2 separate regions of the Homo sapiens genome follow, and region 2 is linked to region 1. The links are contacts of gene promoters, found by promoter capture Hi-C in human tissues and cell types (Jung and others, 2019). All regions are on one chromosome and are shown on one strand. The core of a region is centred on a gene start or on the middle of the fragment in contact, and the rest is flanking DNA. Distances in the headings are between cores, read along the strand shown. Region 1 holds the start of GHR (growth hormone receptor). Region 2 has its middle 9.8 kb from the start of SELENOP.

Region 1 (5,528 bases), core at 1-2,500:
AGTTCTGTCAAAACTTTAAGCCTGGTTGATTTTACAACCACTAGTGTGTCAAAAGCTGGGGGAGGTCGGCTCGCCACAATTTCCACTTACCCCAGTTCATGCGGACTGGTGGCTGTCACTCTACTGACCCCAGTTCCATCGGTGCCAACGTGCGGCTGCGGCCCGCACAAACGCGCAAAAGACCGCGCGCTCTGCGCGCTGTGTCCACGCGCACAGCTCGACCTCCCCAGTCTCTCCAGTCGCGCTGCCGGGGATTCTTCCCCGCGCAACAGCAGCAGCCTCGGCAGTTCCTGCCGCAGCCAGGCAGATGATGGCAAACAGAAACACACTAGCAAAACTTTTATGACTTTAACAAAACTGTCTCCGGAGTAAACCCCTCCACGTACACTACTCGCGGGCCAGAGCAGACGCCAGAGTGTGATGGTTCGTCTGTCGCCCGCAACTCCCTGCCGCCCTCACCAACTTCCAGACACACACACACACACACACACACACACACACACACACACACACACACTAGATTGGGTTACAACAACCCACCAGCAGAAAACAACTTCTTCGCAAGGAGGAGGGGAGCACAGCCAAGTCATCCGGAATAAAAAATTATCCGTGTAAATATATAAGACAGATCCTCCCGTTTTCATAAACAACTAGAGTCCCAGGGTTCACCCTCAGGCCCCCTGGCACAACAGGAGGAAAATAAAGCCAGACTCCCGGAGCCCCACTCCAGTACCTCCGAGCTTCGCCTCTGATCAGAGAGCGCGGGTTCGCGTCTGCGCTGGGGCCAATGGTGCCGGGGCCTCCGGCCCGCGTGGCCCCAGCCCGGGGTCCCCGCCGCCGCCCGGGCTCAGCAGCAGCCGCCGCCGCCACCGCCACTGTAGCAGCTGCTGCTGCCGCTGCCGCCGCCGCCGCCGCTCCCTAGCCCTCCTCCTCTTCCCATGGCTGCGCCCTGCTTGGCAGCTCGCGGGCTGTCAGGCTTGGGGAGGAGAGAGGGGGCGGGGTGAAACGGGAAGGGAGGATGGGAGGGCAGGGGTGGGAAAAGGCGGCCACCGTTCACCAGGGGTCACGCCGCGCCTGGCCCGCAGTCCCCCAGATCCAGGTTGCAGAAGCGAAGGCGAAGCGGACGTTCAAGGAGGCCAGTTCGAGAACTGCTGCGGAGAGGCCGAGTGCCGCCCGGGCCAAGCATTCCGAGTTGCTGGGATGAAGTCTTCCCGGCGAGGAGCTGGAGTTGGTGCGTGTCACTCTCAACTGAGCTGCGCGGCTCCTCCTAGAGGAAAATATTGGTAGTTGCAATACACTTCCTTCCTCTCCGCCTGCCCGTTCCAAATGAAAGCAGGACCTACAAGAGCGTTAAGTGCAGTCCACAGACTCAAAGAAACACTTACAAAAAGGTTAGCTATCTCCAGGAATGAGAGGAAGATCAGCGAGATACCTTGGAAAGCGTGTTTAGCCATCCAAATATTGCCTTTCCATCAACAATCAAGTTCCAAACTCCTGCTCACTGGGGCACAGTGAAAAGATAGTTAAAACTACGAAGGACTTTATTGTGGAGGTTAGAAGACGGAGACAGAGAGAATGAGTAATTTACCAAGGACACTCAGCATGTTAGCAGAGAGGTATCTGCTAGAGGACAGGGATGCAGGGAGAGCAGACACAGGCCCCAGCCTGAAGTTCCTGAGCCAGGAAAAGGGTTTTAACTCTGCCTCACGCTGGACATAGCTCATCTGTCAAATGCGAGCCCTGCCTACTTCATTCACAAGAAGTTGTAAAAGTGTTGCAGAAAGTTAAAGTTGTGCATAAGCATGTCATTTTTGTACAGCATCAAACCCCAAGTCACTATATGCTTTTCTGAGTAGAGAGTACAAAAATCTAGCTCCAGGTTGTCTCAGATCTGAAGGAGTAGCTAGTCATGCAATCTTTCCACTATTTACTGACGGTCAATTGTAATGTCACTTACTTATAAGCTTCTAACAGCTTTGGCTTACTAAAGACTTTTTTTTTTTAACAGAGCTCCCAGACACAAACCCAAGTTTATACCCAGAAAGAAATGTTTAAACAACTTAAAGGAACCAAGTTTCTTTTCTTTAGAATAAAATATCTATAGGGCTTTGAAGTAGTACACGGGAGCCAAGACTTGAGAAGGAACAGAGGACCAAAGACTCTGGGATAGCAGATATCACATAAGATACCCCTATTTTCAAAGGAATCAGATAAGTGAAAAACTGTTCCTTAGAATGCTTTCAGAAGCTCAGCTGTGGCTCAAATACCCCAGCTGTTCCAGACAGACACCTAGAATGAACGAAAAAGGAAAGATTCTGGAAGGGGCGTGTTTTATCATGGGGTGGGATGGTTATTGATCCTGAACTGCTCTTGTTCTATGGCATCTAAAAATAAGGAGGCATTTAGTTCCCCTAAGACTCTTCCCCAAACCATTGATTTCTGGGGCTTCATACTTTGCTGGAGCAATAGTGGTGCTTGGCTGTGTCTGGAGCTTTTAAAAGGGGAGGTACCCATATAGAGAAACTTGGGAAAGTAAAAGATTAGGGCACAGTCAAGAAAAACTCCTGCTGGGTGGTCCATACCTGCCAAGCTGGCTGACAGGGTAGTCCTGGCAGGAGTAGAGACCAGACAGGCCTCAAATGCTGACTCCACGCCTGTCTGAAATGACCTTCCAAGTTGGACCTTCTTCAGAGCCTGGCACTACCAACCTCTCTGTTTATATCCTCTCTGTGCCTTCTCATCCTTTGCCCTTCTTCCCTGAGCTAGAGAATCTTGATCTAGTTTAGGAGGTGCCAGACGGAGTCATAAAAGATATTCTAAATTCTATTGTTTATGCTCTGAGATGAGCTCAGGGCCATACTTAAAAAAATAAGAATTGACTTCTTTTTTTTTTTAAATCTGGGTTCAGCAATATCCTCCATTCTGTGTGCCATGAAACTAGACTACTCTGGCTGCTGCTCTGTCTTTGATTTTTAAAAAGTCATCATGCACAGAAAACATAGGAAAAGACACCTCAGTTAATACTATAGAACTAGATATAAACCTGCAACTGACATGAAGGGCAGTCTTTATTTTTAAGCCTCGTAAGTAAAGGTCCTTCAATCTCATATATGACCAGGTATTGGTCCATAGTAGTATGTGCCTCTTTATATATTCCAAATTGTGAGGGAAAATGTAGCAGGTATTGAGTTGATTAATTTGTTATAAGTTAAGGCATGCCAGAGCACATTTACCTTCTGAAGAATGAAACTGCATTTGCTCATGGTTTCCACTCTGCTTGGAAGATCCTACTTTGTCCACCCAGAGAAATCCTTCTTAATCTTAAAGTTCCAATCAATTGTTTACTTTCTCTCTGAAGGTCTTCCTGACTATTCCCCAGGGTGGAATTAATTAATTCTCCCTGTATCAGCACCTTTATAGGCCTTTATATCTTCTTTTATTAAATATTGCAGTTTTGTTGACATGTCTGCTTTTCTCATTAATTAAGAGATTTCTGAGGGAGAAACTATATATTCTTAATATCTGTACCTGCAATGTCTAGGTTAGTGCCCAGTATTTACAGAGTTTATAAAGCGTCCAATAAATAATCAAATTGAATGAAAAGTTGTATCTCTTGGATTTATATCTCTAACCCAGATCTCTCCACAGAGCTCCAGGCTAACAACTGGGTATCTCCATTTGGATGTCTAACAGACCTCTGAAACTTGACATGTCCACATCTGAACTCTGGTTCTTTCTCCTTAAACATACTCCAATCACAGTGGGTGACATTTCCATCTCAGTAGATGGCAACTACTTCCTGCCAGTTACCCAGGCCACAAACCTTTGAAATCATCCTTACTTCTTCTCTGCCAATCACATTCCACATTCAAAACTCTGTCTATTTTCTTGGAGAGGTCCAGAGACACCTGGTCTGAACCACCAGAATTTCTCAGATTACTGCAGTAGTCTCTCAACTCAACTGGTCTGCTTGCTTTGACAAACCCCACCCCTAATCCCCAACCAACACCAACAACAACCCAAAGTATAAATTCAGTTGCCATAGTCATTCCTTTTAAAATTAATATCATGTCATTCCTCAGCTCAAAACCCTCCAATGGTTCCCCATTCAAATCAGAATAAAATTCAAAATGGCCCATGAGACCCTACGTGAGCTATGTACCTTTGCCCCACACCTCATCTCCCATGAATTTCCCCATCACTGGGTCATCCATTCTGCTCCCAGCACACCGGCCTCCCTGCTGTTTCTTAAGCAGGCCAGGCAGACTCCTAACTTGAAGGCTTTTTGCTGGCTTTTCTCTCTGATTTAAACACACTTCCACAAATATTCATTTGCTTCCTCCTACAGTTCCTTGAAGTCTTTACTCAGATATTGGCTAACTTATCTTGTCCAACCTATTTTACCTTATTATGGCCTTACCTTATTATGGCCCACCCTTCCCCAGTCTTTTATACATCCCCAGTAGGGCTTAGCAAAAAATATAAACTGCCTTGAAGACAATAGAAACAATTAGAAAATAATTCTGATTATATATATTCAAGTGCAGATATCTAGGTCAGATCGCCATCTCCCCAAACCATAAAACACCACAGTATAAACTTCCTAAATCTACAGTTATCTGAGGTTAGAGCATGGCTTTAGTCACTCTGTTGTACTATAAAATGCCAAAGCTTCTTCTCAAAACAAAACAAAAGAGGCCAAAACACTTAAAGTAGCATTTTATAGCTGTTTTGTTTTATAGCATTTGTAGTTGAAGAACATAGGATTGTTAGTCAGGAGCCTTGGGATCCTGTGTGGGTCCTCTGTGATTTTGGGTAAATTAGTTACTAATCTCACAATGACTCCATTTCTTGGCCTATAGAAGGAAGGGGTTGCTCTCTGAGATCATTCAGCTGTAAAATAAAGTATTAGATTGATATTTGTAAATCAAATTATGATATCAAACATTTGTGATAAATTCTAAATTTATTTGAATAATATTTGACCAAATGTCCGGGTACCATGCCCTAGCAAAGTTGACACATTGAGATGGTTAATTTTATGTGTCAATTTTGCTAGACCATGGTACCCAGATATTTGGTCAAATATTATTTTAGATTTTTTTGGCAAAGGCATTTTTATGGTAAGATTAACATTTAAATCAATAGACTTTGAGTAAATCATATTGCTCTACATAATGTAGGTGGGCCTCAATCGATCAGTTGAAGGCATTAAGAGAAAAAAACTGACCTATCCCAAAGAAGAGAAAATTCTGTCAGCAGGCAGCCTTTGGATTCAAACTGCATATCAACTATTCCCTAAATCTGTAACCAATTTACCCTGTAGATTTTTGACTTTTCAGTTTTCACAATTATGTGAGCAAATTTCTCAAAATAAGTCTCTGTATATATATCTCATGAATATGACATATATATATATATATATATCTCATGAATATGACATATATATATATATATATCTCCCTGATTAATACAATATTTACTGGTAAAATTAATAAGATTCTAATAAAATATTATCCCTTTAATGA
Region 2 (5,528 bases), core at 1,933-4,432, 400 kb before region 1:
AGGAGCCATGCTGAGGAGTGGAGGGAAGTCAGGTGGGAAGGAGATCTGGATTTATACCATCTGCCTGGGTAAGCCTTCAGGAACATGAACTGCGTCGGTCCTGAAATTGAAATAATGACAATATATATGCAAATATTGTCAAGAAGGCATGAGGAGATGCCAAATATGAGCAGAGCCAGAACCCAGGGTGTGGTAAATCAAAAGTTGAAGCTGGAACATCCTAAGAAGCAGTAGCCAAGGTTTGGTCCAGGATGTTCTGCAGTCAGATGTGTCCAGCAGTCAAAGATATATGAGCTGGAGGCCAGGGTCTGATGGTTTGGAGTTAGAGTTGGGGAATTAGAATCCTGGAATATTACATACCTAGGTTCTTGTTTGTTTTATGGCAGTACATCCCAGCACTTTAGGAATATTATTGGCCCATTACTTAGCACTAGTTTTTAACTCTTATAGTTAAACGCTGTAACATTTAAGAGGATAAGATGACCCCAGACTATGAGAGCACAAAAGAAACAGTTGTTTTCCATGGAAACATGTTACTTTTAAATATTAGCTTTACCTTTGTTATCTCACAGGGTAAGTGGAGTGGGAACATACAAAAATAGGTAGAATTAAAAAGGAAGGAGCTGTGCAAAGTGATGAACCACATCAGCTTTGGATTATATATTTTTCAGTGTCTTTGTTGAGTACAGAGCTTGCACCAAGAGATGTCAGATTAGTGTAAGGAGACCATTACTTAGAATATGTGAGGCTCAGCAAGAGAACATGGCCCCACTCTGAGTGGTGGGCTTTCTGACCTGGTAGTGTTCAAACAGAGGCTAGAAGATTGTTGAGGAGAGAGATTTCAAAATTGCTTTCTGGATAAAGTTTGACTAAAAGGATTTCAAATCTGCATTTCATAATTGTACAGTATGCCCATCTGAAATCGATCAGAATTGTAATCTCCAAAAAGCAATCTGAATCTGCAAAGCCTTTCCTATTGCTTGCAGACTCAGCAGCCCTGAGTCTGCTGCTAGTCAAGTAGTAGGAAAAGTTGTGCAAAGCCTTTGTCCTCCTCACTCTAGTTTCTTCTTTGTCCAGTTGAAAAAGACTAGCAAATGAGGTCTTTTGAAGAATAGTTATAATGACTATTCTCCAGCAACCACGAGAATGGAATTCAACTTAAGGTGTTATGCATTTATTTAAATGTACCAAGCCTCAGCATGCATGTGTCTAGCCTTTATATACATGCATATATAAATGTGTGTCTGTGTGTATATATATATATATATATTTGTATGTACATACACACTTATCCACATTTATGATGAAAAATAAATTCATGTTTATTGTTGCAGTTAAACTCTGGAGCTCTGAAACCATTGGGTTTGAATCCCAGCTCCTCTATCTTTTAGCTGTGAATATAGGTCAAGTTACTTAACATCTTCGTACCTATTTTCTCACAGGGTAAAGACTATTGTGATGATTAAATGTGTTATTTATTACCTATAAAAGACAGAATATGACTGGAATATAGTAAACATCCAATAAATGATAGCTATTATTATTCTAGACTTTCTAGAAAATACATAAAAATAAAAAGAAGAACTAAAAATCATGTTTATTCTGAAGGGGAACCACTGTTAATTCTGAGCATATCTTCCCAGTCTTTGTTCATGTGCTTGTCTTCTGTTTACTCTCACTCTGGAGTCATGCTCCAGGGCCTAGGTTTCCAATGCACATGCATGCACACATACACATGCACATACACAGAAATATACGTGCACACATGATTTTATGCTTCTTGTAAAAGTTAGAATATGTACCTTAAAGATTAGTATAGGGGAAAAGGGAAAACTTCCCCTTTGCCTTCCGAAGATTTGCAGAAAATCACTGATAAGATGCATATTAATAGGAGAAAAGGCATACATATTTATTAATGTGTACATGGGAGCCTTTAAAATTAAGACCCAAAGATACAGGGGAAATTGTCCATTTTTATGTTTAGGTTTAACAAAGTATGGGCAGCAAGTAGAAACATGATTGGACAAAAAATATGATCTAATGTTAATAGACTGAGTGGGGAAACTCAGAAAGGTCTGTCTGTCTAGATTTTTCTTCGCCTCTCTGAGCATGTATTCCTTTTTTTGGATATGGCACAGGGCCCTCTCTGGAATGGGGGTCTTATGACCTATAATCAAACAAGATAAGTCTAGTTATCTAATTTTTTAGTGGCCAGTTTTTGTGCAGTTATAGTGGAGGGAAAGTTAGAGTAAAATTTTTAGATTTTATGGCTGGCTTTGGGTAAAGGGGTTCTAGTTTCTATGACCCACCTTGAGTAAGACAGATTCTAGTTTTTATGGCTAGCCTTGAGAGAGAATGGGATTGAGAGATAGTAGGGTAGGAGAAGGTCAGAGAAAAATTTCTGTTTTGAGGCTGCTTCTGCGGCCTTCATTTTGGGTATGTTTTTCTGAGTCCCAACATTAGACAATCCTACACAAATATGTATTCAGGACTAAGGTCATGGCTTGTTTTAATAGTTATAACTCTTAAATGACAATTGAGTCATTTTTCAAAGAGAATAAATATTTTGCCATTTTTTCATTAATTCTCGGATCAGCGAAAGTATATATTCTAAATTTGATTGCTTTATTTAAATATTTATATTTTTCAGTTACATAAACATGGAAAACTGTAAAATAAAAATGAATGTCTTATTTACAAAATCTTTGCTTCAGTTAGAAAGGGAAAATGAGTATACACATTACAGACCATTCATAGAATAAAATAATGTGCATTTTAAAAAGAATGAGGTAACTCTATACACACTGACACAGAAGAATGTCTATGACGGGGAAAGATTTCCATGATGCTTAAATTAAAAGCATTGTGGAATAATAAATAGAGAATGACCGTCTTTATACATAGTGTTTTAAAATTTTTTTTAGCTCATCAGCTATTGTTAGTGTTAGCGTATTTTATGTGTGGCTCAAGACAATTATTTCAATCTGGCCTAGGGAAGCCAAAAGATTGGACACCCCTGGTCTAGGCAGTGCTGTGGTCAGGTTTGCTGAGTATTCTGTAGGTGGAATGTAAAATCCAAGATAATGCCTGTTGAACTTGCTGGAAAGTGCACCAACCTGATACTGATCCTATCTCCAGGCTGGGTTCAATGCTCCTGTCTTCATTTCCAAGTTTCCAACAGAATCTTGTGCTTACAGTCATCCTAGAGGGGATCAAGCTTTATACTTTGTTTTTTCTGCTTACTTGTCTGTCTACCCTATCAGATTTTGAGGTCCCTGAGAACAAGAAATACCATTTTTTGTTTTTATTTTTAAATCTCTGTAGTCCCAACATTTAGCATTGTGCCTAGCATAAGCAACCAACAAATGTTCCTTTGATTTGTTTGATTTAATGTAATTTTGTATAATACCGAGTTGGTGTTTGTTTGGAAATTCTGCTTTCTTGAAAATGCTGACTGGTGCCAGGTTGCCCAGCACAGAAGAGACTGTTAGGAATGGATCAATTTCTTTCTTTCTTTTCTTTTTTTGAGATGGAGTTTCTCTTGGCATCCAGGCTGGAGTGCAAGGGCATGATCTCTGCTCATTGCAACCTCTGCTTCCAGTTTCAAGCCATTCTCCTGCCTCAGCCTCCCGAGTAGCTGGGATTACAGGCACCCGCCACCACGCCTGGCTAATTTTTGTATTTTTTGTAGAGACGGGGTTTCACCATGTTGGCCAGGCTGATCTTGAACTCCTGACCTCAGGTGATCCACCCACCTTGGGCTCCCAAAGTGCTGCAATTACAGGTGTTAGGCACCACTCCCAGCCCATTTTATTATTATTATTATTTTCTTTTTTTAGAGGTGTGGTCTTGCTCTTTCACCCAGGCTGAAGTTCAGTGGTGCAATTGATAGAGACAGGAGACAGCCAAATGCTGCCCAGGTCATTGTGTACAGGAGGGTTGCCTAAAGATGCCCACAACCGACTAGGGGTCCCCTTGTGCACTGGGAGAATGGGGTGGAGCCACTGGGAATTCTCACCTTATGGAGTGGGGAGGAGCCCTGTCTCTTCAGCTCTTGTGTGGCGGGCTGGTATTCAATCTGTGAGGTGGAAGCCTGTTGGCAGGAACCCCCCATTTTAATTTTTTAATTTTTTTTTTGCTGAGAGCTTTCTTTTAATAAATTCCACTCTCCCTGCCTTCCAATGTGTCTGCATGCCTAATTTTTTCTGGTTGTGAGACAAGAACCTAGATTTTAGCTGAGCTAAGAAGCAAAAAATCCTGCATCACAATCATAGCTCATTGTATCCTCGAACTCCTGGGTGCAAGTGATCCCATCTCAACCTCCTGAGTAGCTGAGATTATAGGCATGAGACACCATGCCCTCTAAGAATAAATTCCTTTCAAACATTACAAGCTCCTCATCTTTTCCTTTTGTCACCTGAGGTTTTAGACATACACTGGCCTCAATACACATAATCCTTGGCACTTTCTTTTGAAACAACTTTCAAAACTACTTTAAGTTGATAACAATCAACTTGAACACTTGGATGAAATTCTTTTGGGTCAGGAGGTTCCTGCTAAGCTCACATGTAAAGAAAAGAGGACATAGTGAAACACCTGCTTTCTGATTGCAGATAGACCAATAATGTAGCAGGATGAGCCGCAGACAAAAGCTCTCAGACACCGAGTTATAGTAGGAAGGGCTTTATTCAGCAGGGAGGATCGGCAAGCTACTGCCTTAAATTCTGAGCTCCCTGAGTACACAATTTCTGTCCCTTTTAAAGGCTCACAATACTAAAGATTTCACAAGAAAGGGTCATGATTGATTTGATCAAGCAAGGGGTACGTGACAGGAGCTGCATGCACTGGTGGTCAGAGAGAAATAGAACAGGGCAGGGAGTTTCAGAATGTTCTTCTATACAATGTCTGGAATCTATGAATAACATCGGTTTCTAAGTTATGAATTGATTTTTAACTACTGGGTTTAGGCCAGGCAGGCCCAGGCCTGGTTTTGGGCCTGGCGCCGGGCTGCCTGTCTTTGATTTCACTTTCTTTTTTTTTTTTTTTCCTTAAAACAGGTACTGAGTATAAAACAATATAGAACAATATGAGAGGGTCGCTCTCTTTCCTCATTTTCCCCCTTTGAGACTCTCACTTTTTATTAGTGGGAGTTCTCACTCTTATTTTTGCTACTTATGTCTTTTTGTGCAATAGATTGATAGTGATTCATATAGTACACTTGTGCTGAAGCATTTTGGTGAACTAAGGTAGCAATGAAGCTTTTTATCATTTGAAGAAGTAAAAGTAGTAAACAAGGGAGCAGTAAGCAGGTTTTTATTACTATTATAACTCCTATTATAAGAGTTTTAAATCTTCCTATTGCTGGGAACTAATTTTTAAACATGGATCCTGGATTGAGTCCGTGCCACACTTGTATGGGTACATGTGCCAGTTTTGTTATATCTTTAACTATATTTTTAACTACTTGCCCTTGATCACCTGTGTGTAGAAAACAATTAGTAAAGTTAAATTTTTCACAAACTTCTCTT

What was found. The method cuts DNA at HindIII sites, captures the fragments that hold promoters and counts their contacts. A contact is called where the count stands out against the background at its distance.
Region 2: a contact is called between a fragment that was not itself captured here and the fragment with the promoter of GHR in region 1, in 1 of the 25 tissues and cell types used here (heart left ventricle).

Annotation. Positions count from the first base shown.
Region 1 is chr5:42,419,161-42,424,688 of GRCh38, reverse strand. GHR (growth hormone receptor) reads right to left here and starts at 1,250. Exons shown (of 10, transcript NM_000163.5): 1 at 734-1,250. RefSeq lists promoters at 1-45, 210-557, 210-978, 1,176-1,276, 886-1,458 and 1 more, cis regulatory regions at 1,081-1,121, 1,459-1,967 and an enhancer at 1,105-1,254. The HindIII fragment of the contact is 10,174 bases long and covers 1-3,318 here.
Region 2 is chr5:42,818,909-42,824,436 of GRCh38, reverse strand. No RefSeq gene overlaps it. Among named protein-coding and RNA genes, the nearest start is that of SELENOP, 9.8 kb to the right of the region's middle. The HindIII fragment of the contact is 6,385 bases long and covers 1-5,528 here.